2 separate regions of the Homo sapiens genome follow, and region 2 is linked to region 1. Evidence: promoter capture Hi-C in 16 types of primary human blood cells and fetal thymus (Javierre and others, 2016). All regions are on one chromosome and are shown on one strand. The core of a region is centred on a gene start or on the middle of the fragment in contact, and the rest is flanking DNA. Distances in the headings are between cores, read along the strand shown. Region 1 holds the start of PLEKHO1 (pleckstrin homology domain containing O1). Region 2 overlaps LOC124904413 (a long non-coding RNA gene).

Evidence for each region. Contacts are between HindIII fragments. The CHiCAGO score rates a contact against its expected background, and 5 or more counts as called.
Region 2: a contact is called between a fragment that was not itself captured here and the fragment with the promoter of PLEKHO1 in region 1, in 5 of 17 cell types (erythroblasts, naive CD8 T cells, neutrophils and 2 more). The highest score is 10.3, in erythroblasts.

What each region holds. Positions count from the first base shown.
Region 1 is chr1:150,148,057-150,151,308 of GRCh38, reverse strand. PLEKHO1 (pleckstrin homology domain containing O1) reads right to left here and starts at 1,393. Exons shown (of 6, transcript NM_016274.6): 1 at 1,022-1,393; 2 at 251-397. The coding sequence starts at 1,051. RefSeq lists silencers at 1,086-1,165, 1,306-1,765 and an enhancer at 953-1,453. The HindIII fragment of the contact is 16,730 bases long and covers 1-3,252 here.
Region 2 is chr1:150,038,967-150,041,772 of GRCh38, reverse strand. All of the region lies in intron 1 of LOC124904413 (a long non-coding RNA gene), which reads right to left. It also overlaps a transcript of OTUD7B not described here. Among named protein-coding and RNA genes, the nearest start is that of VPS45, 27 kb to the left of the region's middle. The HindIII fragment of the contact is 5,988 bases long and covers 1-2,806 here.

The sequences.
Region 1 (3,252 bases), core at 144-2,643:
GGCTTATCGTTGTTAGAAAGGTATTTGCAAACAAAAAAACACTGAGTAAGCGGCCAACTCAACTTCTAATTCTCACTCTGGTCTTCTCATTAAAGGGTGGCCTTTCTCTGCAGATGAGATGGGGGTAGAGAGGAGACCACTGAACTTGCCTTTGGAACAAAACGGGGGTGGAGTAAGCTAGGCGAGCCCTTGGGGAGTGACAAAGTGGGGGCTATGAGAAAACGGAGAGTTAGAGGCAAGAGGCACCCACCTCCTTCTCAGAGATGTAGAGCTGGTCCCCTTTCAGCACCACATAGCGGTTTTTCCAAATCTCCCTGAAAATCCCTTTCCCGCAGAATTTCCGGACCCAGCCGACCTTCTCGGGCGGTGCAGGCTGCTGGTTTCCATCCTGAGGTCCCTGCCCCAGGACAAGATGAGAAGCGGGCGGTTAGGAGATTCCAGCCGGCGCTTCCTCTCCGTCCGTCTCTCACGACCGCCTCGGCGGCCCAGTCTCCTCCGAAGGCTGCGGCCGGGGGGCGGGGGGCCGCCCCAGGTTCGCTCCCACTTCGGAAAGGTTTTCACTCCGAGGAACTCCCCCCGCTCCCCTCCCCCGCTCCCGAATAAACAACCGGGGCTGCAAGTGGCAGGGGCGCCGGCCGGGCGCGGAGAGGCTCCCAGGTTCCCTCCAGGCCCTGCGCCCCCGCCGCCCCGTCCTCGCCGCGCGGGGACTAACGGCGTTTCTCTGGTTTTCTCTCCCATTGTCTCCTCGCCACGGCGGAGCGCGAGGCAAACGCTCGCCCGGCGCCCGGGGGCGGGGGAGGTGCGGGTCGTGGGGAAACTCAGCCAAGTTGAAGCCCCCCGAGGCGAGTAAACAAACAAAAGCCCCCGCGGGCGCCTGGCGGGGCCGAGGCCGAGGGGACCGGGCCGCCGGGGCGGGGGCGCGGCCGGGCCGTGGGTCTCCCAGGCCGCCGCGGCGCCGACGGAGCGGGGGTCGTCAGAGCGCGGAGGCGGCGGCGGCCGCAGGGCGGGCAAGCGCACTCACCCGCTTGGCGGAATTGTTCTTCTTCATCATTCCCAGCGGGCGCGGGCGCGGGGCGGCGAGCCGAGGGGCGGCCCCGCGTCGGGGCCTCGGCGGCACCGCGGGGGCTCCTTCCCCGCGGGAGGGCGTCGGAGCTGCCCCGGCGCCGCCGCTCCTCCCTCGCGCCCTCCCGCTCCCGGACTCTCCCCTTCTTTGTAGCTCCGGTTTCACTCAAGGCCGGCCTCCCTCGCATTCGCACTCGCACACACACGCACGCCCGCTCCCCGCCCCTTGGCGCCCTCCATCCCGGCGCCCACGCGGCCCGGGTCCCCGAGCGCACCCCCGCCACCCGCCCGCCCGGCCCAGCGCGGCCGCTCCCCCGGCCCGGTGCGCTGTGGGCGGCCCAGTCCGCACCCCGCAGCTCCATCCGCGGGCCGCTGACGTTGCGAGTTCAGAATAAAGGGCGAATCGCGGAGCCGCAGCTCGGGCGCTCCCCCCGCCCCCCCGCCTTTGTTTCTGACTCACGGAGGGGGAAGAAGGCGGCTTCGAAGCGGCTGGAGACCGCTCCCCAGGGGGCAGGGACCCTCGCTCCGGCGGCGGCTCGGGCGACACGCGGAGCCCGAGAGACCCGGCCGCCGGCCGCCCCGGGGCCCAGTGGGCGGGCGCGGTGGATAATGGAGAGACGTGCGGATTCGTGAAGACTGGAGATCGCCAGCCTCTACAGCATCGCCTTACCCGACCAAAAACAAAAACGAGAGCGGGAACCGGGAGGGCGCGCCACCCACAACCCGCATCAGGAATTCACGCTCCTAGGTGCTAGGGTGGCCTGGGCAGGTCAGATGCTGGGGGAAAGTTTTATGCTCCGGAGGGGATCGACGTGTTGGGGGATGGGGTGGGACAGAAGTTGCTATTAATACACGTTTCTTCCAGCGTACAATGCCTCAGGCCTTATTGTAGCTTCAGGAGAATAATCCTAAGGATGAGGCGGATTTTATGATCTCCATCTCACAGGGAGAAAACGGAGACTCAGAATAGCTGAGGGATTTGCAGACACAGTGTCGATGCTGGCTTTTCAGACACAGTGTCAATGCTGGCAGGAATAGAACTCTGTCTCCAAACCATTATCCTTTCTACCAAGTGGCTTTCAATATAAGTTCCAGGTGAGGCTTAAACTTCCTGCCACCTGGGTATCTTTTCCCGCTATACTGATAGGTAAAAACCCCACCCTCTCTACAGCGCTGGAGCCCAGTGGAGGGAAGGGCTGAACGCCCAGAGAATGCCCTGACTAGAGAAGCCTCTGCTGATCCCTCCTACAGCAGATCTGCCTCAGAGCCTCCAGGACACATCTTAGTAACTTCATGTCTTTTTAATATATATACGTGTGATGGAAAAGGGGAGTGAGAAACCCCGCGCTTGGGTACTGGTTTCATCACCACTCTGGGCTTTGGTCAAGTCACTGAATTTCTTTAGGCCCGCGTCCCTCCACGTATTAAGTGGTGAGGGATGAACTGCCATTTTTATCAACAAGGAAAGCTAGGGGAAGATATGAGATGACCTCTGAGAGTCCTTTGAAGATATGTGTTGTCTTCCAGGGCTAATTTTGAAATCATAATAAGCTAATAAACACATTGCCTGGCATATGGCAAGCATGCAGTAACCACAAAATGAATAAAAATCCCTGGCACTGAGGAGCAGGGAAAAGGAAAAATCATTTTTCCAGAGATGTCTCAAGATAAAAGTGTTGGCTAGATTTGTGGTTTGAATAGTGGAGGCTCTTTTGACTTTTTCTGGTGTCTGTCAAATGAAGGAGGGGCTCCCTCTCTTTTCCAGTTCCACCTTTCCTCCTAATCCAATGATATTCCTCTCAACTTCTTTCCATTCACCATACCAATTAATTCCACGATTTTAGACTGACACAGAACTTTATCCTTTCAAAATGCTCTTATATGTCATTTCTTTACACTTTTAATGCCACCTTGTAAGGTATATAGAGTATTAATATTTCCATTTGGAAAATGAGGAAACAGGGCATGCCAGATAAACTGACTTGCCCAAGTTTATACATCAAGTTACTGGCTAAATGGATTAGAATCCAGGCTTCCTGACTGCAGTCTCCTCTTCAGATTTTGTAACCCCCTCCCATGGGCATGAGTGTGCACACACCACGTTCCCCAAACCATCTTGTCCCCTTTCCACCGTCTCTATTTTCTAACCCCCTGTTTAAAGAGCGATGAAAAAATAATGAGCAAATCCAG
Region 2 (2,806 bases), core at 260-2,759, 110 kb after region 1:
AAACAAACAATAAAAGGCACACTCAATTAGTGTACTAAAAATCTGATTATTTGATAACCAATAAAACAGACCAATCTTTGGCAAGTCTGATTAAAAAAAGAAAGATGGAGAAGGAGAGAAAATATAAAAATAGCATCAGGGCCAGGTGCAGTGGCTCACGCCTGTTTTCCTAGCACTTTGGGAGGCCGAGGTGGGTGGATCACTTGAGGCCAGGAGTTTGAGACCAGCCTGGCCAACATTGTGAAACCCCATCTCTACTAAAAATACAAAAAATTAGCCGGGTGTGGTGGCATGAGCCTGTAATCCCAGCTACTCTGGAGGCTGAGGCATGAGAATCGCTTGAACGCGGGAGGCGGAGGATGCAGTGAGCTGAGATGGCACCACTGCACTCCAGCCTGAGCAACAGAGTGAGACTCTGTCTCGAAACAAACAAACAAAAACAACAACAACAAAGCATTGGAATGAAAAGGACATATAATCACAGAAATAGTGAAGATTTTAAAAGCATACTAATGTATTGCATATTACCTTATAGCAATAAATTTAAAATTCGGGTGAAATTTATCTAAGTATATAACAAACCAAAATTGACTCAAAAAGAGGTGGGGAATCTAAGATATTAAAAAAAATTATTGAAGAAGAAAAAGAGCACAATATAGTTAACATGACTGAACTGTACACTTAAAAATTATTAAGATGGTAAATTGTATGTATTTTTTTAACTACGATGAAACAAATTTTTTTAATTAAAAAAAGGAAAAGAGGCCAGGCGCTGTGGCAAACACCTGTAATCCCAGCACTTTGGGAGGCCGAGGAGGGCAGATCTCTTGAAGTCACAAATTTGAGACCAGCCTGGTCAACATGGCGAAACCCTGTCTCTACTAAAAATACAAAAATTAGCTGGGCATGGTGGCGGGAACCTGTAATCCCAGCTATTTGGGAGGCTGGGGCAGGAGAATGGCTTAAACCCAGGAGGCAGATGTTGCAGTGAGCAGTGACTGCACCATTGCACTCCAGCCTGGGCAACAGAGTGAGACTCCATCTCAAAAAAAAAAAAAAGGAAAGAAAAGGTCTCAAGTCTAGGTGATTTTATGGGCAAGTTATAGATAATCTCTAAAGAAGAGACAAATTCATTTGTTACTTTCACATTTCCATAGCATAGAAAATAATGAGACATTTGCAATATATTTCTGTAAGGTAAATCTTAATAAGGGAAGCAAACAAGTATGGCACAGAAAGAAATACTTGTATCAATCTCATTTATAAATGTAAATATAAAAATATTAAATCAAAAATTAGCAATTTTAATTCAACAACAGGTTAAACAAAAAATAGATCATGGATATCTACTAGAATATAAGCTCCATGAGGGTAGGAATCATTGTGAGTTCCTTTAATACAAGCTAAGTGGCCAGAAAGCTGCCTGGCATATATTAAGTACATGAATATTTGTTGAATTGAATGAACTGAATTAACCAAGTAGGTTTGATCCAACTGTGGTTGACCTTAAGGAATATGTTCAGTATACTGAAAGAAAAATAATAAAAGAGATCATCTTTCTAAGATACTGAAAACCCTATTGATAAAATTTAACTCCCATTCCTGATAAAAGCTATTGTAAGCTAGGAAAAGGAAATTTCCTTAATTTGATGTAGGCTATCTATTTAAAAACTTAAACATCACAGTTTATTATGAAACGTTAGAAGGCTTTTCATGAATAACACAAAAAATGCCTGCTATAACTGCTGCTATTCAACAGTGTTCTAGAGGTCTTAGCCAATGGAAAAGAAACATAGAAATGAGTTAAATACTGGAAAGGAAGCAACAAAAATCATTATATACACAGGCAATAGAGGTAATCTAAGACAACCAATGAAGCACTAATTTGAATTAATGAGAGTGCAATAAAATGGCTCCGTATAAGGAAAACAAAATCAGTATCTGCTCTTATGCCACAATAACTAATGAAAAAATGTAGAGGAAAAAAATTACATTTATAAGAATAACAAAAGCCTAAACTGGACAAGAAATGTGTAACACTTATATGAGAAAGAAAGTATAAATATTTTCTGAAAGACACTTTAAAACATTTTGAATAGGCCAGGCGCAGTGGCTCATGCCTGTAATCCCAGCACTTCGGGAGGCCGAGGCAGGCGATCACGAGGTCAGGAGATTGAGCCTATCCTGGCTAACACGGTGAAACTCTGTCTCTATTAAAAATACAAAAAATTAACTGGGCATGGTGGTGGGCACCTGTAGTCCCAGCTACTGGGAGGCCGAGGCAGGAGAATGGCTTGAACCCGGGAGACGGAGCTTGCAGTGAGCCTAGATCGCGCCACTGCACTCCAGCCTGGGTGACAGAGCGAGAATCCGTCTCAAAAAAAATTTTTTTTTTAATAAATGAAGAGATAATATAATTTATGATAATATTCAGTCTTATGATTATGGTAATCTCTCAATTAATCATTAAATTCAATGTAATCTCAATCAAAACCTTGATAGGAATTTGACATATGAAGAGAGAATTGAGGATAGGAACTTGACATATGAAGAGAGAATATAGACAAGAACAGACAATTGTAAAAGTTTTTTCTTTTCTGTTTTTAAAGAGCAATGAATAGCATATAGGGCTGGAAGAACTTGCTCTATTAGATATTAGAAAGACAAGAGTAATTAAGATAGTTTAGTAATGGCAAAGGAAAGCTAAATAGATTGGAATAGAGTAGAATGTATCAAAATAGATCCATATATATGGAAATTTACTTAATAATAAAGATTACATTTCAAATCAGTGGGGAAGAAATGG